6 separate regions of the Homo sapiens genome follow, and regions 1, 2, 4, 5 and 6 are each linked to region 3. The links are contacts of gene promoters, found by promoter capture Hi-C in human tissues and cell types (Jung and others, 2019). All regions are on one chromosome and are shown on one strand. Each heading gives the region's core, a stretch centred on a gene start or on the middle of the fragment in contact. The rest is flanking DNA. Distances are from core to core; before and after follow the strand shown.

Region 1 (4,184 bases), core at 1,381-3,880, 260 kb after region 3:
ACTATGGGAGGCCAAGGCGGGCAGATCACAAGGTCAGGAGATTGAGACCAGCCTGGCTAACACGGTGAAACCCCATCTTTACTAGAAATACAAAAAATCAGCCGGGTGTGATGGCGTGCATCTGCAGTTCCAGCTACTCAGGAGGTTGAGGCAGGAGAATGGCTTGAACCCGGGAAGCGGAGGTTGCAGTGAGCCAAGATCGTGCCACTGCACTCCAGCCTGGGCAACAGAGCGAGACTCCGTCTCAAAAAAAAAAGAAGCAGTCAGTACTTTCTTGAAATGTTTTTCCTAACAATTTGGGACAAAATTGAGGCAATTTTTACTTCTAAATGTAGTCAGTGGCTAATTAGCTCAGAGTGTGTCAGCCAAACCGTGACCATGGGGACATTTCCACGTGAGCCAGCTATGTCCCATGGGAGTCTGCACCCTTGTGTGTTTGTTGGGAGGGGGCACCTCTGTGGTAGCTATGAAGCATTTAGGCTTTGCTAGCCGCCCTGTCTTGTCTTGTCTTGTCTTGTCTTGTCTTGTCTTGTCTTGTCTTGTCTTGTCTTGTCTTTTTTCCTTTCCTTTCCTTCATCTTCTTTCCTCTTCTTTTCTCTTCTTTTCTTTTCACAGTCTTGCTGTGTCGCCCAGGCTGGATGGAGTGCAGTGGCACAATCTTGGCTCAGTGCAACCTCTGCCTCCTGGGTTGAAGCTATTCTCCTGCCTCAGCCTCCCAAGTAGCTGGGATTACAGGCATGTGACACCACGCCTGGCTAATTTTTGTATTTTTAGCAGGGATGGGGTTTCACCTTGTTGTCCAGGCTGGTCTCGAACTCCTGACCTCAGGTGATCTGCCCGCCTTGGCCTCCCAAAGTGCTGGGATGTTTTCAACCCCTATTTGTCTATACTCTACTACAGTATCGACTTGTGTTAGCTTTTTAAAATCCCATCGCTACCTTTAATGTGTAAACGTGTGGTCTTAGAGGAAAGATCATGCCAGCAAGAACAGATTCCACACTTAGGAGGGCAGAACAAATGATGACCTGATCATTAGTACAATATATATTCATTTTGAGCTGAAAATTTTTTTAAATAGCCCCCAAATTATTGATAGCTTCATTAGAATTGTTTTTACAAATGTTTCATTTATCAGTTTAAGAAAGATCTTTTGATAGCTTTTATCATATGGACCTGTGGAGAATCTCTCTCTGCTAGGCTACATCCAGACATGTGCAGTGCATTCATACTAGTGAAATTTAGCCATGTTCTGTGATTGACAGAAGTACCTGTTAGATTAAATTACCTTGAGTTCAAATAATATCAGTTGATCACAATATAAATGAGATCTGAGGGCACAGATTTTTTCCAGTTTGGATCATTAACCCACATTTAATTTAAATTATGTGCACATTAGAGTGGATCTCAGTCTGTGTTCCATGAATTGAACCAAAGTTTGCTATTACTAAAGTGATTTGTTGGTGAATTTTCCTAATTCTCAGAAAAATGTTTGGTTGATATTATAATTTCCTTAATTTTTTATTCCATAATTTTTCTTAAAATTTTGTATCTATTCTTTGCCCTAACATGATAAAATGAATAAGTAAATTAGAGCGATTGCTCTTACACTGGAGCTTGCATCACCTGGAGGTCTTACTACAACACAGATTGCTGGGCCTCATCCCCAAATTTTCTGCTTTCTCTCAAGTAGACATCTTGGTTGGGACTTAAAGACTTTCCATGGCCGGGCGTGGTGGCTCACGCCTGTAATTCCAGCACTTTGGGAGGCCGAGACAGGCAGATCATGAGGTCAGGAGATCGAGACTATCCTGGCCAACATGGTGAAACCCCGTGTCTACTAAAATAGCAAAAAAAAATTAGCCAGGTGTGGTGGTGCGCACCTGTAGTCCTAGCTACTCGGGAGGCTGAGTCAGGAGAATCGCTTGAACCCAGGAAGCAGAGGTTGTAGTGAGCCGAGTTTGGGCCACTGCACTCTAACTTGGGGACAGTGCGAGACTCCGTCTCAAAAAAAGAAAAAAAAAAAGACTCTCCATGGATAACCTTTCTATTCCATATATTTTATTTCTATTTCATATAATTATGCTTTATGTCTTATTTTTGAGGTATATTAGGACTCCTGAGAAGCCTAAAAGTACATTGTTCCATGATTATCCATAAGTTGTGTGTTAAACACAGGCATTCTACAGATGATTTCCTAAAGGACCAAAAGCACTTTTCCTGGTCCTGGTTCTTTTTCTCTGGAGGGTCAAGGACTAGGGAGTAAACCAGAAAGTATAATGGCAAGCAGTAGGGAAGTTAGTGGTGGTAGCAGCTGTGATTCCTGCCTTGTTTCTGTCTGTGCAGGAGCTTCTCTCACCCCCTTACACACCATGGACATTTTGAGAAAGGAGAGGATTTGAAGAGGTCAGGAAGTATCTTTAATTTACAGTTTTTTTTAATGCAGAAATATAGTTTCTATGATGCAGTTTAGAATACAACCTATTTATTTCATCAGTTGAGTGCCTCTAGGATGTACTGTGTGCTATACTAGATACACAAGGGCCAGAGATAAGAAAAATAGATTCTCAACCTTAGGAACTCTCAATTAAGGAAGCAGACACTTAAACAATATAGTCACATAAGGGCTTTCACTTAAGTTTTATAGCATAAGTATATAACTAGATTTGGCAGTGAATGTCAAGGAACACTTCCTAGAGGATGTGAACACTGAACTGGGACTTAAGGAATTAGGCAAAGAGATGGTGTTATAACATTCCAGGCAGACAGAGGAGAAAGGCATGGTGCATTGCCCTTCCCCACACCCCCAGGAAAAAAATGCATTTTATTTTATTTTATTTTAGACAGGGTCTTGCTCTGTCACTCAGGCTGGAGTCCAGTGGTGCAGTCTTGGCTCACTTCACCCTCCATCTCCTGGGCTCAAGTGATCCTCCTGCTTCAGCCTCCTGAGTAGCTGGGATTACAGGCGCATACCACCACACCTAGCTAATTTTTGTATTTTTGGTAGAGACGGGGTTTCACCATGTTGGCGAGGCTGGTCTCAAACTCCTGGATTCAAGTGATCTGCCCACCTGGGCCTCCCAAAGTGTTGGGATTACAGGCATGAGCCACCACACCTGGCCAAAAATTCATTTTATTTAATGACCAAGTATACACACATTTACACATATATAACTAAAACAAAACTTACTATGTGGGATGCATTGTGAAATATTCTGCTCTGTGTTCTTTCATTTAAAAAAAATTACTGGTCACAACATAGTAAAAAAAATGTTGCAAACCATTAATATGTTACAACCCATAATTGCCCTAGAGCACTATGAATGCTGAGCTATAATTTTAGGGAAAGTTACAGTCTTGCTCCTTAGAATTAGCCCATGGTAGTATTCTGTGTATTCAGAGGAAAATAACATAATCTTGTTACCATGTATGTGCCCTGGACATGGTAGGTGCTTTCTGTGTGCTTAAATCACCTACCTTCCCAGGCCCTGGAGATAAGAGTGTGACTTGCAACTATGTAACAGGACCCTGGATCTATCTGTGTTGTACCTTTTATAGAAACAACTTTTTTAGGTACATTATTTCATGTGATCCTCACAACAGCCCTGTGAGGTGGATGGGGAAAATATGATCAGCTTCACTTTCTGGATAATGGAAGTTAAGGTTCAGAGAGGTTAAGTGACTTTGTTGGTTACCAACTGCCTAGTAAGAGACAGAGGTGGGATAGGAGAGGGCTATTTTCTGTAAACCACATAGCTTCTGAGAGTATAATCTAACTTGAAATATAAAATACATTTATATAAATTTACCACTTCATCATTTTCTTTTTTTTCACTCTGTCACCCAGGCTGCAGTGTAATGGCATGGTCATGGCTCACTGTGTCCGCAATTTCCTGGGCTGCAGCCATCCTCCCACTTCAGCCTCCTGAGTGTAACTACAGGTGCATACCACCATCCTTGGCTAATTTTTTAATTTTTATTTTTAGTAGCAATGAGGTCTTGCCGTGTTGCCCAGGCTGGTCTCGAACTCCTGGCCTCAAGCAGTCCTCTTGCCTTGGTCTCCCAGAGGGCTAGGATTATAGGCATAAGCCACCACCTGGCCCATTTGCTTGTTGTTAATGCAGCTTTTTATAGGATACAACAAAAAACCTAATTCTAAATTTATCATGCCAAGTTTATGCATCTGT
Region 2 (4,783 bases), core at 1,413-3,912, 280 kb after region 3:
TGTAATCCCAGCACTTTGGGAGGGCAAGGTGGGAGGATCACTGGAGCCCAGGAGCTCGAGGCTGCAATGAGCTGTATTCATACCACTGCACTCCAGCCTGGGCCACAGAGTGAAACCCTATATTAAAAAACAAAAGGAAGCACTCCAGTTTTCTGTAAAAGTCCTCCTATACCATTGCTTCTTATAATTAGTTTACATGAGAGTCACCTGGGAGTTTGTTGAAATGCAGGCTCTGATTCAGTAGCTTTGGGGTGGGGCCTGAGATTGTGCCTTTCTAACAAGCTCCCAGACTACACTTGGAATAGCTAGGTCCTAAAACATCTGGCCTCTCAGTTTCATTGTGACGTGCTAAGTGGATAAAAATACCTTACTAGGAGTTTCCTAGGGCTCACGTAAAACTATGTAGTCATAAATGTAAACTTCAGGATTACCACACAAATATTTTTGGAACTCAAGACATTAACTGAGGACTCCTAAGTTAAAATGCACCCAGTGCCTAAGATTTTTCCCCATAGAATTGAAGCATCTAAAATTAAAGCTGGTTAAACTTGCAGAAGAAATCATTTTTTAAGTATTTTTTAGTCCAACATTTAATTATACAGTTCCTAAAATAACCTGTGGAAGTACAGACGATTCTGTTGCCCTGGTTAGAGCAGCCTGGGTTCCTAGCAATGCCAGCACTTCAGGCCGGTGTGGGAGTGCAGGGGACGGCCTGCCTACTTCCCACCAGAGTGTTCCGTTTACGTGTGCTTTTACACTCTTGTGTACACTGATATTTGGGAACAGAAACTTTATTAATGACCTTTACAATAATCTTGGTGAAAGGTATATGTTTTCAATTAACCTTAGTGAATTTACTTGAAAATAAAACTATCCCTTCTAGCTCTTCATCTTTTGAGCAAGAATTTACCAGAATGTGACTTTAGAAAATAAGGAAAACTGATAATGCTTAATTAAGGTAGTAAATAGCCAATAAATACTTCTTAAATTGTTAGTTTATGGACTTCTCTCTCTTTGGGGTGCAAAAGAAGTGACCAGAAGATGTACTGCTCTTGGATTTTAATTTTCTAAGCTCTCTGCCTGTTCCTTGTATAGTGCGCTCTTTGTTCATATGTTTATGCACCTGTAATTTGTCACTTTTTAGTTTCTCTTTTTTATACTCTTTTCCCTTCCTTTTACTTCTTTCAGTCTACCAACAGGAAGAATGTTTAGAAACAGTAGATGTTTAGCCCGGGCGTGATGGCTCACGCCTGTAATTCCAGCACTTTGGGAGGCCGAGGCGGGTGGATCACGAGGTCAGGTGTTCGACACCAGCCTGACCAACATGGTGAAACCCCGTCTCTACTAAAAATACAAAAATTAGCCAGGCATGGTGGTGCGTGCCCGTAATCCCAGCTACTCAAGAGTTTGAGGCAGGCGAATAACTTGAACCTGGGAGGCAGAGGTTGCAGTGAGCCTAGATCACACCACTGCACTCCAGCCTGGGCAACAGAGTGAGACTCTATCTCCAAAAAAAAAAAAAAAAGAAAAAAGAAAGAGTAGATGTTTAATGATTGGAGAATTTTCAAAACTGGCTATGTTTTGAGTGCACAGGTTTTAATCTTAATATATCCTTACATTTACTAACAAGCAAGAGTTGTAGCATGAATACTTAGAAATAGTACGAACAAAATGCTAATTTCAATTTATTGGGAGAAATTTGAACTTAATTGACTTTTGTCAATTATGAAACCTAAAGTTTTCTTTTTAACAAGAAAAAAAGAGTTGTTGTTTATACCTCTGGTTTTTAAATGGAGTGGGAGCGGGATATTTTAAGAAAGGGATCGATGCTTTCAGTAATGCCCCCTTTTTGAGGCTGCATGACCCTGAGATGTCACAGTATCCTGAGGCGCGAAGGCGACTCAGGCCAGCAGTGAGCTGAGCAGGAGACAGCATTTAAACATCAGGGGAGTCACTTCAGGGCACTGAGTTTCTCTTTTCAACTTTTCTTGGTTTTCTAATCAGAATGTCAGCCTGTACAGTCCTTACTCATTTTTCTACTGTTATAACCATCTAATTTTTATTTCACTTTTATATGTATTTGATTATTCATATCCACTATTGGATATGAATATGAATCACTTTAAATATCATTTTAAAATTAAGTGCTTGACTAGAATCCGTAAAGAATGTTTTCAAAGCTTCTAACTTCATGGTAAGGTGTGTTCTATGGGAAGCAGAGAATTTCAGCAGCATGGCTTCTATCCTGCCGCGCCCACCTGTGGTATCTTAAAGTTCTTGATTATCACAGAGTTTTAAAGATTTTTGCAACAACGAATATTGTAAGTCTGTTTAGAAATTACAAGTACAGATTATACAAATAGCTTTTTATTTTTGTTGTTTGTTTTTGCATTTATATAGCGCCTTTCCTTCGAGGAGCTCAAGGCATTTTTCAAAATCTGACAGTTTTTCTCACAACAACCCTGTGAGGTAGGTAGTGTGTGTTAAAAACAATGAGATACTGACTAACCCATTCTAGCCTTTTAAAATGTTCTTTTATGTTAAGTAATTTGAAGTGTCAGCATAAATTAGAGTTTTAGAACATTTTACAAACCTTTTAAAGTAGTTTGATAATAGTTGTATTTTTTAAAAAACCACTTGTACTTCATAACAGGGTGATTTTAAGAGAAACAAATCATTCTTCAAAAGATCAGGAGTCACTCCATGTGATTAGCTGAGCACTGATTGCAGGACTCAGCCAGGTATGTTTTTGGTTCTCGTTTATTTTCAGGTCAAGAAGGACTGAAGAGCTGATCTGCGACTCCTCACTCAGCGTCTACAAACTGTGGATTTGCAGCTAAACTTTCTTCAGAGGGGGAAATGTGTTCACTATGTTGCCTCATGGTTTTATTTTATATCTTAAATATTTGAGCATTTTTCTCTCTTCCTCTCTCCTTCCCTGTCTCCCTTTTTTCTGTTCCCCTTCCTGTTCCCCACCCCTCCAGTCAGCTCTTGATTGTGCATGCTAATGAAGGGCACAGTAGCACAGCTAATACAGTCTACAACTTTTCTTCACTGCCACAGTGGGGAGACAGAAAAACCAAATAGCAAGAAAACCTGGGAAGTGAGTCTCTGGAAAGAGTGGGGAACAGGTGTGTGGGAGTGTGAATTCATATGTTTTTTTCCTGCCCCTTTAATAATAATCAATTGTAAATGACATTTTTATTTTTCTTATACCAGCCATTGATTGGAAGTGTAAAAAGAGAAAAAATAGATATGTTTGGTTGATTTAAAGTAGCAAATTTTCTATTAAGGGAGGGAGGACGGGGCATATTGGTTTGGAAATGCCAAATAACTGTTTTTCTTGCCTCCCTTGTCACCCACCCCCCCACCCAAATACGAAATTTTAAAATTCACATTTGCGTCCATCCCTTCCACTGTATTGTCAGTATACAAGCTAGAGCTGTCTCTGGCTGGGCCCAGTGCTGATGTTCAATGGCAAACGCAAGTCAAATCCTCTTCTAACCATGAAACAATGTGAGGAAGGCTCTCCTGAGCCAGGTGATATAACAGGAACCAGAAAGGCCAGGGTAAATCCCAGGTCTTCCATTCATTAACCCTAAGTCATTGGCAATCTACTCAGCCTTGTTGGGCCTTATTTTCCTCATTTGTGGAACAAAAGGGCTGTTCTAAATTATCTGGCCTTTAAGTGTCAGAGTAAAAGGATAGTTTTATGCAGTTTGTATGGGAGATTTAGAGTGATTATAGTTAAGGAGAGAGGGTATTTTTCTGTTCAATAATAGGAAAAAAAAAAATTTCCCTAAGGTTTTCAGTGCATTTGCACCAGCCCTAATAGGTATAACAGTCTTAACTTTTATTTTCCACAGTATTTGTTACAATGGGATTTGATTTGGACTATCAGCCAGCTGACTTTTACATACTTCTGTAGGATTATTGAAAACAACTGTCTCATCTCCTGCCTGTCTGCACCCTTAACCATTTTCTTCCCCCTTTTCCTTACTGTCATTTCATGCCCATAGCAGCCAACTGTGACAGTAAGTTTTAACAGGTTTGGGACAGCAACTTATATTTTTAGTGAAATAGAGGTTCTTGCTATTGGTAGCAAGGGATAGTTTCAGGGGTTTTATTTATGTTTGAGGCAATAAAGTCAGGAAAGCAGAAACAGAAGTCAACACAGGGAAGGTAGGCAGAATACTACTAAATCAAGAGTTGACTATTTTGTGTTGGTTTTAGCATGTAAATTGTTTGGCATTATGAATAAAAAGTAAACAAAACCAAGGTTACCTGAAGGCATTTTTAGATAGGAATGAACTTGTTTCAGAAAGCATAGAACACACATAAAGCCTATTAAAAATAGCCAAGTTTCATTCCAGGTCTATAACTTACTTTTGTATAATGTTCCCATTGGTCACTTTCACATTGAACGTGTAAAGATAGCTTGGCCCTTTCTGTCGTTTGTAGCCCTGTCATTTAACGGCATGGATAATTTATTGCATTTGCTTAAAGTGAACTATTGCTTTTCTGATTGCCACACAAAGCACGGGTTATCTGTTTCCCACCATTTCATATTTCATATTTCATATTGCTCGACAGGTCATGCCTTAGCTGAGAGCTGCTTTGTTGTCTTATCTGTCCTTCATGTGCAAATAACCATGTAGTGTAGGATTGCAGCAAGAATGGTTTCCATTGGATTTCTTGGAGATGGTATCTTGACACAATCAATTGTGATGGCTACAAGTAGTTGAGTATGGATATTTGGATGCTTTCCCAATTCTACAGCTCT
Region 3 (4,653 bases), core at 1,784-4,283:
AGTAAATCAAAAGACAATCATTTGAAGTTAAGAAAGGAAAGAAATATGAAAGCTGTTTAAAGCCAAGAGGCCAGATCTTTTTTTCAGTACATTAGAAAAAGTAGCAGCCAATACTGGGGTGCAGACCATAACTTCTAAGGACCAAGTCAATGCTGAGTTTTAGTTGAGCAGATAGAAGAGCTTTATTTTCACTATCATTTACTCTTATTTAGTAAAATACTGTAAAATTTTAGACCAAAACACACACACACACAAACACACACAGAGGCTGCCTCTCAAATACTGAAAATATAGAACTAGACAATGGAAGTTGTCATAGAAATAAAATACCGATCGTGACACTTGTTTTAAAGAGATGTTTATTTGTAACAAGCACATAATCTACCAAATAGGTGCAAAGCCCTATCTTTTTTTTTTTTTTTTTTTTTTCTGAGACTGAGTCTCGCTCTGTCTCCTAGGCTGGACTTGGCTCACTGCAACCTCCGCCTCCCAGGTTTAAGCGATTCTCCTGCCTCAGCCTCCCAAATAACTGGGATTACAGTCACACGCCACCATGACCGACTAATTTTTGTATTTTTAATAGAGACAAGGTTTCACATGTTGGCCTGGTCTCGAACTCCTGACCTTAAGTGATCCGCCAGCCTCGGCCTCCCAAAGTGCTGGGATTACAGGCGTGAGCCACTGCGCCCGGCCAAAGCTTTATCTTAAAAAGCTAGGCAACCTCATCCTGTCAATGTTACTTCTATTCATTTTCTGCTCAGCTATGGTCTGATTCTCAAATTCTCAATTAGTTCATTGAAACTAACAACTTTTTGCTTGTTGACTTTGCTTTGCTATACTTTACACAAAGGCTAGAGTTCTAAACCGAAAACAATCTTCTTCCTGTCCTTAAGTTCCACCAGCAAGATACTCATCTCTACTTAAGACTGAGTCCATCAAAACACACATCTCCAATACAGCAAACCAAGTCCCAAGTAAACACAACAATACCAGGGGAAGGTGCACGCAAGGTTTCGAGCACCATGGAGGAGAGTATCGGGCAAGCGGTAAAGGATTGTGAGTTTATTTCTGACTGAGTGCAGGCATTTTGTTCAATGTTCTAGACTCCCTGACCAGACATGCTGAAGTGGAGAATACCTTCCAAAGTATCCCTCCAGGACAAAAGCTATTTCCCAAACTATCTTTGCTGAAGAATACTGCAATCCACGGCACCCTTACAGTTTTCAGTAACAAGGAGGACTTACACTAAGAAACCCTAGTTACTGATTCGGGTGGCAGTCACCCAGAAACTAGTATCCAAAAGCACATGAGGAACAAAGCCCGACTTAAGCTTGTGATGGGCTTTTCTGTATTTAACCATCTCTTTAAACATTATGAGGCGCTACTACTCATTAATTACTCCGGTAAATGTTCCTAATTTAAGGAATGGTCAAAAACCCTGTCCTGAAAAAATTAAAATAACTTATAGTTTTACTTTTTCAGCCCAACTGAGTCTTACACAGAGCTTTCTAAAGGCAGTCACCAAGAGTCGGGACTCAAATGCTCATCTGACTTCCCAATAGTACCTAAACATTTAAAAATCAAATTTAAATTAAACAATAATAGCCATTAACTAGCCTAACCACTAATCAGCCACTGAGGTGACTGTATGTGCCAGGCACAGCTCTAGCTGTTTTACATGTATTAGGGCAATTATCCTGACAAACTTATGGCTGGGACACTTATTATTATTCCCATACTACAGAGAAAAAAAAAGAGAAGCTGGGTAACTTGCCCAAGGTCACAGAGCTAAAAAGTGGTCACTGACTCCACTCCACAGTGAGGAAAACCCAACCACCACCATAACTGGGTCTCATACACTTGCTACTTGAGGCACAGTTCGGTGGTTGGAAACCTGGAGTCCCTGTCCCCCTTGAAGCCTATCTGCAACATGACCTTGAGGACAAAATCAAAGTAAACGTCCCACGAATAAAGGACACCACCCCGTCAACAAGTGCTGCGAGGATGAAAGGGAACGCCTGTCAAGCACCCCCTCCCATAAAAGCAAAACAGACCCAAAGCCCCACAGAGAAAACGTGAAGTACCAGGAAAATGACATTAAGTCACGCGGTTGAAACGTCAGGGCACGGAGGTACATCCAAAGACCCATCCCGTTCACCTATAATTAAAAAGTCTAAATTGTGATCACAGCCAGCAGGACCTCAACAGGAAACACCTCCAAGTAAACAGTGAATGGGCTTCTTTAAGAGGGAGGGACTTCAAGCCACAAGAAGGACCACCCACCCCCCCCACCCCCGGCTCAAATACACCAGGGAGGCATTCGAGACAGTTTACATACAAGCCACCTCACAGGAGTTAAAAAGCCACTGGGAAGGGTACTGGGAGCCTCGGAACTGGCTGGTGTGGATCCCGATGACTCTGCGGCGAATTAACAGAAACCCACAAAACTTGTTTCCCGAAGAGCAGAGTCCAACAATGGTCTTCGCGACTCTTGACGGCGAGTTGCTGCCTCAACTTGACGCGCTCCCCGAGGCCCCCGGGAGGCCCAGCGGGAGCGGAGACCGGGCGCGGGCCGGGCGGGGGGCGAGACTGCGGGCCGCGGCCGGCGGGCGGGAAGGCTGGAGCCAGAGCCGGGTCAGGGGCGCGCCTCGCCCGCCCGCCGCGCCAGGCCGCGAACGTCAACGAGGCACAAAGTCGCCGCCCCGACCGCGTCCCGCTCCCGGCGCCCGTCCTGGCGGGGCCCCCGGCTAACAGGAGCGGACGGGGAGCGGCCGGGAAGGACTCGGCGCCGCGCCTCCCGGGCCCGCGGAGCGACGAATTCCGGGGGGGGAGGGGAGAGGGGCCGGGACGTTCCCTCCCTGAGCCGCTGAGGCCAGGTGGAGGGGCCCCGCGCCTGCCCGCGCGCCTCGCACACCCCGCGCCGCGGCCTGCTCCGGCGCCTCCCCTACCCCCATTACCTGGAGGTGCCCACGACCCGCCGCTAGTTGCGCTCAGGCGGGAAACGCGCTCACCGACACCATCAGCGAAGCGCCCAAAATGGCGGACGTATCAAGCAGGCCTTGAGTTCCCCCCCGCCCGCCCTCTGGCCGCCTCTCAGCCAATCGCGGCCCTGCCCCCGCCCCCAGCTCCAGGCTCATTGGCCCCTCTCTCCCGCCCCCTACTACCTATTGGATCGCCTAGCGGCTCCTTTGACTACATTCCGATTGGCCCGCAAGCCTCGTCAGTCAAGCGCGAGGGGCGCATTCTTTTCCCATGGACTTGACGGATCCGGAACCTCTAGGACCCCGGAGCCTGAGAAACAAATCAGAAACGGGGAGAAACCTGGCTGGGACCCCCTACGCCGTAGCAACAGCAGGTCCTCCGCTTGACGGACGCTTCGGACCACCAATCCGAGTGGCCAATGCTTTTTAAAACTAAATTGAGCCAAGCCCATCATGGCCGTGGAGCCGGAGCCGTGAGGGATCCAATAGGGTGGCGAGCTGGCCGGGCGGGGCGGGGGCGGCGGGGGACACCGGTGGTGACGTGAGCCACAATATGCGCCGGCTGCAAAGGTTAGGCCGGGCTAGGGAATCAGCTTAAGTGGAGGAGCGTTCGTTTAGTATGTGAGAGGTAACGGGATCGATGCCTGCATTCTCCACAGGGGAATTTTTATCAGAATGATTTCCCATTGCGATCTCTTTACCTGAAAGAGGTGGCTGTCCTCGTAGCGGGGTCAAGGTGAGGGATCGCGGAATATCCCTACCTGTGACGCACCGCCAAGAGATAAGTGCCCTTGTCCTGGGAGAAGGACTTAGACGAGAACTTTTGGGGTTTGGTTTTGTTTGAGACGGAGTTTCCCTGTTGTCCCCCAGGCTGGAGTGCAGTGGTGCGACCTCAGCTCATTGCAACCTCCGCCTCCCAGGTTCAAGCAGTTCTGTCTCAGCCTCCCGTGTAGCTGGGATTACAAGTGCACGCCACCATGCCCGGCTAATTTTTGTATTTTTAGAAGAGACGGGTGTTTCACCATGTTGGCCAGGCTGGTCTCGAACTCCTGACCTCAGGTGATCCGCCCACCTCAGCCTCCCAAAGTGCAGGGGTTATAGGGGTGAGCCACCGCGCCTGGCCTGGGGTCTTTTTTGAGACAAGGTCTTGCTCTGTTGTCCAGGCTGGAGTGCAGTGGGGTGATCATGACTCACTGCAGCCTCCACCTCCTGGGCTCAAGCAGTCCCCCCACCTCAGCCTCCCGAGTAGCTGGGACCATAGGCACGCACCACTGGGCCCCGCTAATTTAATTTTTTTGTAGAGACAGGGTTTCCCTGTGCACACGAGCTTCTAAATGCTCCCCCGGGCTTCCCGTTCCCCGCCATATCTGTGCCTCCCAGGTAGGACCGAGGTCCCGGACATCAGGACCCCCGCCCCAAGAGCCAGCCCAGGACACCGAGACAGCCCACGGTTAGACCCCATGCTAATAACCTGCCTTATTCCAAAATGGATTTGAGGCGCCTCTCAGAGTCCCATGAAAATCCACAGGAGGTCACGGCGCGGTCACGCCTGTAATCCCAGCACTTTGGGAGGCGGAGGCGGGTGGATCACGAGGTCAGGAGATCGAGACCATCCTGGCTAACACGGTGAAACCCCGTCTCTACTAAAAATACAAAAAGAAAAAAAAAATAG
Region 4 (4,264 bases), core at 851-3,350, 340 kb before region 3:
CTGCTTTGGTTTCTTGTCTGCCCCGACCTTGGCCCCGGTGCCCTTCTGCTTGGTCGCCTCGGGATGGCCCCCACAGTGGTGCCTGCCTGGACTGGGCTGCTGTCCCAACCTCTGGGGGAGCCTGCTTGTGAGAGAAGCATGGGAGTCACTGCAGTGCCCACCACACACCGGGACTCCACTCTTTGCCAAACAAATTTTTTTTTTTTTTTGAGACAGCATCTTGCTCTGTCACCCAGGCTGGAGTGCAGTGGTGCAATCTCGGCTCATTACAACCTCCGCCTCCCGGGCTCAAGCGATTCTCTCACCTCAGCCTCCACAGTAGCTGGGACCACAGGCACACACCACCACGCCCAGCTAATTTTTTGTATTTTTAATAGAGACAGGGTTTCGCCATGTTGGCCAGGTGGTCTCGAGCTCCTGGGCTCAAACGATCCACCCTCCTCGGCCTCCCAAAGTGCTGGGATCAACAGGCGTGAGCCACCACACCCAGCCAAACCAATTTTTTCTCTCAAATCAATTTTCTACCATTTGGATATAAAATTTCTGATTTCTAGAGAAGCAGAATTTAACACCTAGAAGAGACTCAGGGGTGGCTCCCACACTTGGCAAAGCAGGCTAAAGGGCACTCCCTCCAGTGGGTTCACAGCTGAGGTTCAGCTGAGTCCCAATGCCCTGCAGTACCAAGACTCCCCGCCTGGGCCCAAGGACTGCCTTTGTTTTGGTTGCCATTGAGGTGACTGGTTATTATACAGGCTTGATCATCCAGCCTAAAACCAAGGGCCACAGATGTGTCCTTTGGGAGACTTGGCAATGACTGAAGGAAAGAAACTGCTTCCCCTCGGCTTGGCTCAGGGCCAGGCACGTTGACCCTCCTCACTGTTCCTAGAGCCTGGAGCCCATCCCGAAACTAAGGGCCTTGCGGAAGGAGGTGGGGTGAGACTCACCCTAGGTGCAGAAGCACGGTCAGGGTCCTGGCCAGTCACGACGCTGGCAGCGACATCTCACGGCCTCTGTCAGGCTTGGCTTTGATTCTACCTGGTTTTTTGGTTTGTTTGTTTTTGTTTTGCTTTTTGACATAGGGTCTCACTATGTTGCCCAGGCTGGAGTGCAGTGGTATGATCATGGCTCACTGCAGCATCACCCTCCCAGGCTCAATCAATCCTTTCACCTCAGCCTCCCAAGTAGCTGAGACAACAGGCACATGCCACCATGCCTGGCTAATTTTTTGTAGAGGTGGGGTTTTGCCATGTTGCCCAGGCTTTTATTGGCATGGAGGGCAGGGTTATATGCTTATTTGCTAGAACCTGTAAGTATGGGGCGGGTAAAAGATGGACCAGATGAAAAATAAATCGACACAGAAAATCAGTAAGTGGTTGGCACATTGTGCGCACGGGAAAAGTGGCTTCGGATCTTTAACATAGCCTTGTCTTTGAAATGGTCATTCTCCCATCCAAGTACTAACCAGGACTGACCCTGCTTAGCTTCACGAGATCAGACGAGAACAGGTGCCTTCAGAGTAGTATGGCAGTAGTCTGAAAATATAATTCTCTCTCTTCAGGGTATGGTCAAGATCTTTTCAGGCCGAAAACCCATGTTGTACAGCTTCCAGACATCGCTGCCTCGCCTGCCGGTCCCGGCTGTCAAAGACACTGTGAACAGGGTAGGTGTGGCTTAGGCCTCACACTGAAATGCCAGCCATCTGTGGATTAAGGCTTAGGTCTTAATTATGATGAACTAGGTCACCGCCATTTGGCTCAAGTAGCCTTCAGCGGTGTGCCTGGTAGGGTTCTCATAGGAACTCTTTTTTTTTTTTTTCTCCAATGCATCACTGCTGCATCTTAGGTGTTTTTTAAAAAGTGTCAGGTTTCATAGAGAAACTGCTTGTGAATTTTTTAAAGCTTTATTTTATTTTATTTTATTTTATTTTATTTTATTTTATTTTATTTTTTGTGATGGACTCTCCCTCTGTCACCCAGGCTAGAATGCAGTGGTGCAATCTCAGCTCACTGCAACCTCCGCCTCCCAGGTTCAAGTGATTCTCCTGCCCCAGCCTCCCGAGTAGCTGGGATTACAGGCACCTGCCACCACGCCCGGCTAATTTTTGTATTTTTAGTAGAGACAGGGTTTCACCATGTTGGCCAGGCTGGTCTCGAACTCCTGACCTCAAGTGATCCACCCGCCTCAGCCTCCCAAAGTTCTGGGATTACAGGCATGAGCCACTGCACCAGGCCAGTTTTTGCTACTTTACATAATTACTAAATACAACATTGTATTAAATGATTGCAGTCATTCCCCATTCTTCCCTCCCCCCACCTAGTAACTTCTCTTCTACTTTCTGCCTCTGGATTTGCCAATCTGAGGGACCTCATATAAGTGGCATCATATCATATTTGTCCTTTTGTGACTGGCTTCTTTCACTCAGCAAAATGTCTTCAAAGTTCATACACATAGCAGCCTGTGTCAGAATTTCCCTCCTTCTTATGGCTGAATAGTATTCCATTGCATGGCTAGACCATATTTTATTTATCCGTTCATCTGTTGCTGGGTGGCGAATGTTTTTGATCTGATTGGTGAGGGTCACCAGCTGAGGGTGGGGTGATAGTCAGCTTCTAGCCGGTCTGAGGACAGGGTGCTTCTTGACACAGCAGCCGCACTTCAAAGCCAGGCCCCCAGGGGCAAGGCACTACCTAGAAAGCCTGTCATTTCATCCTCAAAGCTACTCATTTCTTTTTCATTTTCTTTTTTTTTTTTTTTTTTTTTTTTGAGACAGGGTCTCACCCTGTTGTTCAGGCTAGAGTGCAGTGGCGCGATCTTGGCTCACCACAGCCTCAACTTCCTGGGCTCAAATGATCCTCCCACTTCAGCCTCCTGAGTAGCTGGGACTACAGGTGCATGCCACTACATATGGCAATATTTTTTTTTTTTTGAGACAGAATCTCGCTCTGTCACCCAGGCTGGAGTGCAGTGGCGTGATCTTGGCTCACTGCAAGCTCCACCTCCTGGGTTCACACCATTCTCCTGCCTCAGCCTCCTGAGTAGCTAAGACTACAGGCCCCTGCCACCACGCCTGGCTAATATTTTTTTTTTGTATTTTTAGTGGAGACGGGGTTTCACTGTAGCCAGGATGGTCTCCATCGCCTGACCTCGTGATCTGCCTGCCTCGGCCTCCGAAAGTACTGGGATTACAGGTGTGAGCCACCACGCCTGGCCCTATTTTTTTTTTTTTTTTCCAGAGACGGAGTTTCACTGTCTTGTCCAGGCTCGTGTTGAACCCCTGAGCTCAAGTGATCTACCTGCTTCGGTCTTTTTTTTTCTTTAATTGAACAAAAGGAGAGGGAGCAGCTCCATTTCTTTGTTTTTAAAAAAATTATGGTAAAATGTACACAACATGAATTGTACTGTTAACCATTTTCAAGTGTACAGTTCAGGGGCACTAAGTACATTTATAATGTTGCGCAGCCCTCACTGCTGTCTCGTTCCAGGACATTTCATCCCCCAAAAGCTCATAGCCACTAAGCAGTCACTCCCCATCCTTCTACCTCCCTCTCCCAGCCCCTCAGAACCACTAATCTCCTGTCTGTCTGTATGGATTTGCCTCTTCTGGACATTTCGCATAAATGGAATCACGTGGCCTTTTGTGACTAGCATGTCTTTAGAGTTCACCCGTGTTGTAGGATGGATGAACTTCATCCCTTTTTGTGGCTGAATAGTGTTCCATTGTATGGAAGGACCACAGTTTATCCACCTGTTCATCCGCTGTTGGGGACGTATCCAGGAGTGGAATTGCTGGCTCATGGGAATTCCGTGGTAACTCATTGAGGAACCATGAGACTCTCACGCAGCTGCACCATTTTGCATTCTAACCAGCAGTGCATGGGTGCTTTAGTTTTTCCACATCCTGGGACTCCAATTTTAAAACTATAATAATAAGCAAAAACTTCTCGGGTTAAGGGTTTGAATCCAGGCTTGGTTACTGAGTCCCTGTTGGCCTTGGTAAGGTCTTCCCATCTCTGCTCTTTTTTTTTTTTTTCAGACAGAGTCTTGCTCTGTCACCCAGGCTAGGGTGCAGTGGCATGATCTCAGCTCACTGCAGCCTCTATCTCCCAAGTTCAAACAATTATCTTGCCTCAGCCTCCTGAGTAGCTGGGATTACAGATGTGCACCACCACACCCGGCTAATTTTTGTATTTTTAGTAGAGACAGGATTTTACTATGTTGGCCAGGCTGGTCTCGAGCTCCTGACCTCAAGTGATCTGCCCACCTT
Region 5 (4,242 bases), core at 1,718-4,217, 300 kb after region 3:
GAAGGCTTTGGTGTCGGTCACAGCTCTTTTGTCTGACTGGAAGTCTTGTGCCACCCTGCCTTATGATTTTGAGGACACCCTGAAATGACCATAATAGCCATGCAGTGGGGCCTTTACCCGTAAGTTGAGGCCAACACCATAATTCTTCTGTATATGCCTTATAGGCAGCATAAGCGTGATTTTAATGCTCAGGAAGGCCTAACAAGTCCCATCTCTGCCATTCACCAGCTGGATGACCTTAGGCATGCTAGTTCGTGTAAGCTTGGTTTTCACATAGCTTTAATCGCTTTCCCTTCCAACGGCGTTCATTAGGATGAATGTGGCCATTTTGCACAGCACCTAGCATGTAGTAATTGCTGAGAAGAATGTGTACCCCCACCTAAAATTACAGTCCAGGTCCATGTATTTGAGATTTGTCCCAGCCCCTAGGGGAAGAGTCATACGAGGCATATAAGTGCCACAGCAAGCTCAAACACAGGTGCATCTGACCCCACTTAGGTCATAGTCCTTGGTTTCTTGATGGACTTTAAAATCATTGACTTTTAGTTTGTCATTGTGGCCACTGTCTTCCTCCTTTAGCCTTCACTGTCTGAAATTCTCAACCCCTGCCAGGACAGTGCAGCTTCTTTGGACAGTGAAGGACTCTTGTCACTCTACTGGGTCCTCATCTTTGTCACATTTCTCAAATTCTTTGCCTGTCTTTTTTTTCCTTTGATTTGATGAGCATACCTTTTGACAGGGCTTTTGATGAGATAATGCTTTTCAAACAAAATTAGAATACATTGGTAACATGTAAGTGAAATCTCTGTGTTGATGTAATACATAGCATCAAATACATACCCATTTTGTGCTCAAAAATGGAGCGTTTATGTTAGTTTAGAGACAAACACATAAAAGTGCTTTGGTTTTCTGTTGTCAACAGTGAATGTTTTGGAAGGAGGGATGGGATGGGGAGAGCCGAATTCAGAATCACCATAAAATGGGAGTCATCCAACGGGTGAAAATAAGAAGTACCAAGGAAGGAGCTTCTTGGGTGCTGTGAGAAGACATAGGAAAGGCATTGCAGAGAAAGTCCCGAGAGGCTCCCTCAGGGAGGTGTTGCCTAAGCTGAGTCTTACAGGGGGATGAGAAGTTGGCCAAGTGAAGCCTATTCAAAGCAGAGGGCCTTTCAGACAGCTCTATAGACAGAGGGGAGTTTGAGTCAAAGCTTTTCTTCATGGCGAGTACAGGCTAAGAAGAAGAGATGTGAGCACAGGTTAAAATTCTAGACTTCATTCTTAGGGCATTAGGTTGCTGAAAGGTTTAAAGCCCAGAAGCTGCATGATACACTAGGAAAGTCATCCTGGCTATGTGGTGGTAAACGGATTGTTGGGAAAACAATAGGAAAAACAAAACTGCCATAGTTCATGCAGGAGGCTGTGGCTTTCGAGACAGGGAAGAGTAGACAGGTTGCAGTGACATTGCAGGGGTGGACTCCACGGCACATGGTGATTGGCTTGGTGAGGCAGTTCAGGAGAGCAGGAGTCAAGGAGGACCTCCAGCTTTCTGCTTTGGCAGCTGGGCATGTGGTGGTGATATTGACCAAGATGGAGACCTCGAAAGGGGACGTCGTCAGGAGACTTGATGGTGAGTTCCATTTAGGGGCTTAGAGACAGTCAGTATTTGGTGACCTGGTTCTGTAAGTTAGGAGCGGGTCTGGCCAGAGTTCGGGAACTGTCAGCCTGTAAGTGGTAATAGCCGTGCGAGAATGGGTGCTTGTCACCTGGGGCCTAGGACTACACAGACCTGAAGAAGAACAGTCTAAGGGGCCGATGAAGGAGGGTGCCAGGGATGGAGAAGGGAACCAGGAGAGTGCGCTCTCTTTGACAGCCAAGAGAAGAAAGGTTTTCTCAAGAAAAAGTGGTTATCAGTGTCACATTCAGAGAAATGAAGAAAGGGAAGGGCTGAGGAGTGTGTGCTGGGTTTGACGACAAGAAGTTGTCAGATCACCAAAGGCTGTCTCATTGGAGGAGCAGGCTGGATCCAGATGGCGGGGATTGCTGTTGAGAATATGACATAGATGTGAGTGTTGTGTAAGGGTGCTTGCAGGTACGTCATGAGAGTGGAATGGAAAGAGGAGAAATCAAAGGTTGGAAACCACTAAGTTTGGTCATAAATTAGTCCTTGAGGAGGCATAGAATGAGCAAAGGATCATCGTAGCCACATCTGAGAGAGCCAAGCAAAGGGAAGCCAAGCAGTGCAGTCCTTTCTTCACTAGTGTCTTTATATTGGCAGCACGTCCATTCAGTCCACCTTGTAGGCAAGCATAAAGAAACCCTTTAGCCGAAGAGTTCCCTATTTTTTCTTATTTTCTAAATTTCTTATTAAAAAAAAATTTGCTATCACATAGTTCTGTATAGTTCCAGTGGATAATAAATCACTCGTTCTCAAATTGAATCACATTCAAAGTTCACTACTCCTACTATTCTAAAAAGAGGCGCCACCTTGGTAGCAGCCCACATGTGTAAGTATGTTCTTGTTTCAAACTGTGAATCCCTTTGCTGTGAATTCTGCTGGTTTATGTACCCTGAAGCCATTTATGAGCCAGTCTGTGCGTGCAGGACCTTCTTTGTTTTTGTTTTTCTGAGAGGAAGTTTCACTCTTGTCACCCAGGCTGGAGTACAATCGTGCGATTTTGGCTCACTGCAAACTCTGCCTCCCAGGTTCAAGTGATTCTCCTGCCTCAGCCTCCCCAGTAGCTGGGATTACAGGCACGTACCACCGTGCCCGACTAATTTTTGTATTTTTAGTAGAGACAGGGTTTCACCATATTGGCCAGGTTGGTCTCGAACTCCTGACCTCAGGTGCAGAGCCTTCTATTCTTGGTGGTTTGATATTTTTGGAATGTTGTGATGCATTCTTGCTCCTCTCTCAATAAAAACTGAACTTATGGTAACTTACTTGCTTAGCTGGGCGGAAGGAATGGCAGTTGCCCTGGCAACCTGAGGCATGTAGAAAGCGACAGATTTCTCTGCAGGATCCTGGTCCTCACTTGGTTGGGCAGTGTGCTGAGCTTACCCATGTTTTATTGTTTTTATCCTCCCTGTTCTGATGAGAGGTGGTGATGATTCGTTTTGTTATCGTGGCTTCTCTAGTGAATCTGTAAATGGAGTGTTTTGATTAGGAAGAAGTTTTTCAACTGGACCTGCAAGAACTAAGTAATTGAGAAACTGACTTGTGTAACAACTTCTATAAATAATAGTCTGGAATGTCAATACAGAGGAAAAATTAACATAGCAGAAAGTCAGTGGCAAGGTCAGAGACACTACAGGAGCAGCTTAAGCTTGAGTCACAAATGAAGCCTTTTGAGAAGCCATTCAACTTTATTCTTTATATTGACAGCACGTCTATTCGATCCACCTTGTAGGCAAGCCTCGTAAGCATAAAGAAATTCTGTAGCAAAAGAATTATCTAAATATCCTTATATTTTAAAAAATATTTTCTACCTAGTAGTTCTGTATAATTCCAGTGGATAAGAATACGCTCATTCTCAAATGGAATCATATTCATCACTACTCAGGTTGTCATTACCATTAGGGTCATTGTAACCCTTTTCTATCCTGGCCTTGGAGGAAAGAAGTTGGATCTCCCTTTGTCCTGAGAGTGTACAATTCTAGCAGCGTGCATCTTCCTTCACTGTGATTGTTGGCATCTGGCCGTCACTGAAGGGATGGGGCTGAGTAAGCTTTGCAGCTCTTCTAAGTTGACAGCCCACTGGTTGCCTCTTCTGTTCCTCACGGAGTTGAAGGGGACAACTTAGAATAGTGCATTTCTTTTTCGGTAGTGACTGTACTTTTCAGAGTGATAATATATGGTTCTTAGCATCTGTTTTTCTTGTTTGAAACCATTGCGATAGAATTTGTTCCTTAGAGCCCATGAGTATTCTATTTCTACTCTATGTTAATGGCCAAGTGCTGTACTTCCTTTAGGTTAATGAGCAATGGATTTTAGAAACATTTTAAATGACTAAGGAGAATCTGTGAAAGGAAAAAACCATGTTAACTTTCTTTGAAATCTTTTATGTGGGAAACTACTAAATCAGGAGAAGAAAGCGTTCGTTTGGGCCAGTGTCACGACAGATTAAGAAGCTTAGAGTGGAATCTAGGTCCCTGCTGTGAAAAGCTCCTTAACCGTGCAACTACTTACCTCAAAAATGAATAGATGCCCCATAAATTAGAAAAGAACTTCAAAGAGAAGCAGTGT
Region 6 (4,268 bases), core at 944-3,443, 310 kb before region 3:
AGCGCTATTTCCAGCTTAAACTTAACTAGACATCTACAGAATGCTCATAATCAAAAACTAAAAGCCAAAATCACATAGGTTAGAGCTGAAAGCCTCTAAATTGCTCATTTATACTTCTCAAAGTTTAATTCATTTTGGCACCTCTTAAACATGCTCAGAGGCAGCCCATTCACAGGAGCCCTTTTGGGAAGGAATTTTAGGGTTGCAAATACCAAATCCTAGTTCACTTAATCCAAGGAGAAATTCCCTGGAGTCCAAGATACCATTTTCTTTTTCTTTTTTTTTTTTTTTTTTGAGATGTAGTCTCGCACTGTCACCCAGGCTGGAGTGCAATGGCGCGATCTCAGCTCACTGCAACCTCTGCCTCCCAGGTTCAAACGATTCTCCTGCTTCAGCCTCCCAAGTAGCTAGGATTACAGGTGCCTGCCACCATGGTGAAACCCCGTCTCTACTAAAAATACAAAAATTAGCCGGGCATAGTGGTAAGTGCCTGTAGTCCCAGCTACTCCGGAGGCTGAGGCAGGAGAATGGCTTGAACCAGGGAGGCAGAAGGTGCAGTGAGCAGCGATGGTGCCACTGCACTCCAGCCTGGGCAACAGAGGGACACCCTATCTCAAATAAATAAAAATTAATAATAAAAAGTAAAAAAATGTGTTTCTTGATTGCCACTGTGTGATGACGTCATCATAAGATGACGTGTGACTATTTGAAACACCCTTTGGGGTCTCACTGGAAGCCAGGGTGCCCCCGTCCCCTACCCATGTTCCTGTTAGCGTCAGAACATATCTGTACGGGTCTGCAGCAACCTCAATTCTTGCCTTCTCAGAACGAATTTGACTGTGGGGCAGAAGGCAGGAGAGACCAAGTTTAAAAGCGGGAAAGTTTATTTTAAAAACTTTAGGAACGAAAGGAAGGAAAGTACATTTGGAAGAGGGCCAAGCGGCCAACTTGGGAGATTAAGTGCGAGGTTTGACCTCTTGACTTGAGGTTTTATACATTGGCATGCGTCCAGGGTCTTGTGTTACTTCTCCCAATTCCTCCCTTGTTGTGGGCTGTCCGCATGCACAGTGGCTCCAGCGCTTGGGAAGGGAGCATGCGCAGTATGTTTACTGGAGTTGTGCGCATGCTCACTTGAGGTGTTCTGCCCTTGCCTGTCTAGCACTGCTGGAGGAAGCTCATAGTCCAGTTAGACGCCGCCATTTTGCCTCTCAGTGCGCATGCTTCAGCCCACTCGCCCAACGCTTGAGATCTTATCGGGAAGCTGCTGGTCACCAGCTCCATTTCTATCTACTGAGAGACTGCCTTTCCCTGGCACCGGCTGTGACCTATTATTATTTTAGAGAGACAGTTCACAACCACCTGACCATCACTGATGGTCGCGTGATATTCCCAGTGTGTGTCGGAGGAAGCCCTCTCCTGGCCTGCTCATGTCAGACCCGCTACCTGCTATAACATTGCAGCTGCTCCTCCGGGGTCAGGGAGCCATGCCCCTAACTTACTAGGGCTTCTGGGTCAGGAAAACGTTTGTGTACTTCCCAGTACCGAGTTTATAGCTGCACTAAAAACCAGCCTCCAATTTCCTTCTGGGTGTGCGTCAGTACTTTTCTCCCCTCGTTCCGTAAAACCTTTTTCTTCTTTCTCTCAAGTGTCAAGAGGTTATAGAGACCTCCCTGAACACCGCAAATCTTCTGGCAAACGACGTGGATTTCCATTCCTTCCCATTCGTAGCCTTTGGTAAAGGAATCATCAAGAAATGTCGCACGAGCCCAGACGCCTTTGTGCAGCTGGCCCTCCAGCTGGCGCACTACAAGGTAAGAACTGACCGCCTAGGGTTTTGTCGTGAGCACTTTGGGGGTTCCTACACCTGCCCAAGACTGTTCACCCAGTGGGGAGGGAAGGCCCGAAACCCGGCATAGGAGAAGCACAGCTCCCCCCGACCCCGGTCTCCGGGGGCCGGGTGGCGTTGGGTGTTTCACCACGCACGCGGGCAAAGTTCGCAAATCCCCCTCCAGCAGGCGTAGATTCCCAGCTGACACGGGAGAGGGAGAGTCTGGGGGATGAGGACAAAGTGAGATCTCATCACTCTACAGAGGGAGAGTTAAGCCCCATAATAAGCCCCGAATCCTAGCATTTGCTAAAGTGGAAATAGTGTGGGCAGGTAGGGGAATAGTCAGTTACGTATTCGTCTGGCGCTCGGTAAATCTGCACTTCACACAGGTCAGGTGAACATGGTCCACGTTTCATCTGTCGCTCTCTGCTTGGGAACAAAATAAAAAGCTTCTTGCATGACTTAGCTTTCAGCTTAATCCTTTCCTTTTGGCAGAGTAAATCTTCCTTTCACCATACTAAATTAAATTTTGGTATTTTCATACAGTGGAATATTATATAGCTATTAAGTGATGTCTTTGGGCAAATTACTTAACGTCTCTGGCCTTTGACATCTCCTTCCATAAAAGGAGAAACTCCAGCCACTTGGAGGTGCCATGGGCTGGATCCCCTGTATACACATGGCATTTCCATCTCCCTTTTCTGAGCACTGGCCATATTTTGGCTTGCACCTGGCAACCCCTGTTGGAGGAGCAGCCTGCACCCCTAGCAGGGACATAAATGGGTCTTCTTGTCCATTGGAGGGAGCATTCCATCCCAGACAGGGGGCCCTTGGTTTCTGGGGGCAGCACAAGTCATCGTGGCATTGGCTTGAGATATTCCCAACTTTTTTTTTGAGACAGAATCTCACTCTTGTTACCCAGGCTGGAGTGTAATGGCATGATCTCGGCTCACTGCAACCTCCACCTCCCGGGTTCAAGCAGTTCTCCTGCCTCAGCCTCCCGAGTAGCTGGGATTACAGGTGTGCGCCCCCATGCCCAGCTAATTTTTTGTATTTTTAGTAGAGATGGGGTTTCACCATGTTGAGCAGGCTGGTCTCGAGCTCCTGGCTTCAGGTGATCCACCCGCCTTGGCCTCCCAAAGTGCTGGGATTATAGGCGTGAGCCACCGTGCCCAGCCTTGTATTAAAACTTGAGTGCTGTACACATATGCAGCGTGTGGCACTGCCCCCCCAACCTTGGTAACGATTGTGCCATTGTTGAATTTTGCTTGGTGCATCATGTACCTCATGCTTCACTGTCTCTGCACCTGGGAGGCACTCTTGTTATCCCATTTTTAAAAATTTACAAGTCCCCATTATGCCTCAGAAAATCTTGTTTTCCCATTTTACAGGTGAGGAAACAGGTGCAGAGAGGCCAGGTGCTTGCCAGGGTGGCACTAGGCAGGGATAAAGCGGGCCAGCGGCTCCAGAGTCTATGCTCTCTCCACCTAAAGTTAAGAAAACAGTTACAGAGAAGTAAGAGGCAGTGTTAATATCAGATGAACTGGAATGAATGGGCCAAAATCGTATTTAAAATGCATGCTAATACAGTCTGTAAAGACTGTCACAGTTATGAAGCCTTGCTTTCCCAAGTAACATGCTCACTATGCGTAAACCAGAAGCAGCTGGGCAGAGTACCAGGAGCACAGTGACAAGCTCCTGTCTGTGACAGATCATTGACTAAAGATCATGTGATTAAAAGGTGACATGGAATAGAGGCATCGCATCTCAGAATCAGTGAGCTGGATTTTGAGAATTGATGAGCAGATTTTGCCCGTAAACGTGCAGTATGAGGGCATGCAAGCAGTTGATACCTTACCTACAGAAAGGATGTTATTTTATCTTTTTAAATTTTTTTCTTTTTTAAAAGAATTCCCTGCAAGTAAGCGCAGGACTTAGGAGTTTAGTAAGGAAATGCCACGCTCCAGTTTAGTACATTTTGAAACATGCTGAAATGACTATTCTGCAAGCAGTACAAATTGGTGACGTTGACTCAAGGTAGAAAACCTGAAAAGGCCTCTGGTCCAGGGACCAAAGTGAGAGGTTGTCAGGGAGCCACCCTTGTGACTCCAAAGAGCTTGCAGCTCAGAGACTCCACAAAGGAAGCCACCCCATCTGCTCCCCAGAACCCACGTGGCCCAGGTGTGGGAATGAGCTGCAAGGGGCACCAGCCACTGTGCCATGTACTTGGCAGGAGCGAGCGAAACTTCAGGACGGCCCCGAGGAAGGCATCTCTTCATCTCTGCCCTCCACACTCGGAGGTGAAGCATCTTGCCTGAGGGCTCCAGCTCGTACGCAGCAGGACTGAGATCGGAAGCAGGCAGGCTTGTTCGAGAACCTGTGGCTCTCATCACTGTGCTGCAGCTAAACGCAGAAAAAGGAAGCACAGACCAGCTTCCCG

The links. Contacts are between HindIII fragments. The study calls those that stand out against the background at their distance.
Region 1: a contact is called between a fragment that was not itself captured here and the fragment with the promoter of PPP6R3 in region 3, in 1 of the 25 tissues and cell types used here (dorsolateral prefrontal cortex).
Region 2: a fragment that was not itself captured here is called in contact with the fragment with the promoter of PPP6R3 in region 3 in 1 of the 25 tissues and cell types used here (dorsolateral prefrontal cortex).
Region 4: a contact is called between a fragment that was not itself captured here and the fragment with the promoter of PPP6R3 in region 3, in 1 of the 25 tissues and cell types used here (aorta).
Region 5: a fragment that was not itself captured here is called in contact with the fragment with the promoter of PPP6R3 in region 3 in 2 of the 25 tissues and cell types used here (dorsolateral prefrontal cortex and spleen).
Region 6: a fragment that was not itself captured here is called in contact with the fragment with the promoter of PPP6R3 in region 3 in 2 of the 25 tissues and cell types used here (bladder and spleen).

What each region holds. Positions count from the first base shown.
Region 1 is chr11:68,194,810-68,198,993 of GRCh38, reverse strand. The region is part of intron 1 of KMT5B (lysine methyltransferase 5B); the gene reads left to right. Among named protein-coding and RNA genes, the nearest start is that of KMT5B, 16 kb to the left of the region's middle. The HindIII fragment of the contact is 6,067 bases long and covers 1-4,184 here.
Region 2 is chr11:68,177,818-68,182,600 of GRCh38, reverse strand. It overlaps KMT5B (lysine methyltransferase 5B), which reads left to right. Exons shown (of 11, transcript NM_017635.5): 4 at 2,401-2,469. Among named protein-coding and RNA genes, the nearest start is that of KMT5B, 33 kb to the left of the region's middle. The HindIII fragment of the contact is 8,126 bases long and covers 1-4,783 here.
Region 3 is chr11:68,459,132-68,463,784 of GRCh38, reverse strand. PPP6R3 (protein phosphatase 6 regulatory subunit 3) reads right to left here and starts at 3,033. Exons shown (of 24, transcript NM_001164161.2): 1 at 2,958-3,033. RefSeq lists silencers at 2,573-2,682, 2,733-2,782, 2,793-3,162, 3,473-3,622 and an enhancer at 3,303-3,362. The HindIII fragment of the contact is 5,146 bases long and covers 1,015-4,653 here.
Region 4 is chr11:68,801,396-68,805,659 of GRCh38, reverse strand. CPT1A (carnitine palmitoyltransferase 1A) reads left to right here. Exons shown (of 19, transcript NM_001876.4): 5 at 1,559-1,660. Among named protein-coding and RNA genes, the nearest start is that of CPT1A, 38 kb to the left of the region's middle. The HindIII fragment of the contact is 6,052 bases long and covers 1-4,264 here.
Region 5 is chr11:68,159,330-68,163,571 of GRCh38, reverse strand. All of the region lies in intron 10 of KMT5B (lysine methyltransferase 5B), which reads left to right. Among named protein-coding and RNA genes, the nearest start is that of CHKA-DT, 40 kb to the right of the region's middle. The HindIII fragment of the contact is 4,466 bases long and covers 735-4,242 here.
Region 6 is chr11:68,770,808-68,775,075 of GRCh38, reverse strand. It overlaps CPT1A (carnitine palmitoyltransferase 1A), which reads left to right. Exons shown (of 19, transcript NM_001876.4): 14 at 1,647-1,811. Among named protein-coding and RNA genes, the nearest start is that of TESMIN, 21 kb to the right of the region's middle. The HindIII fragment of the contact is 3,959 bases long and covers 214-4,172 here.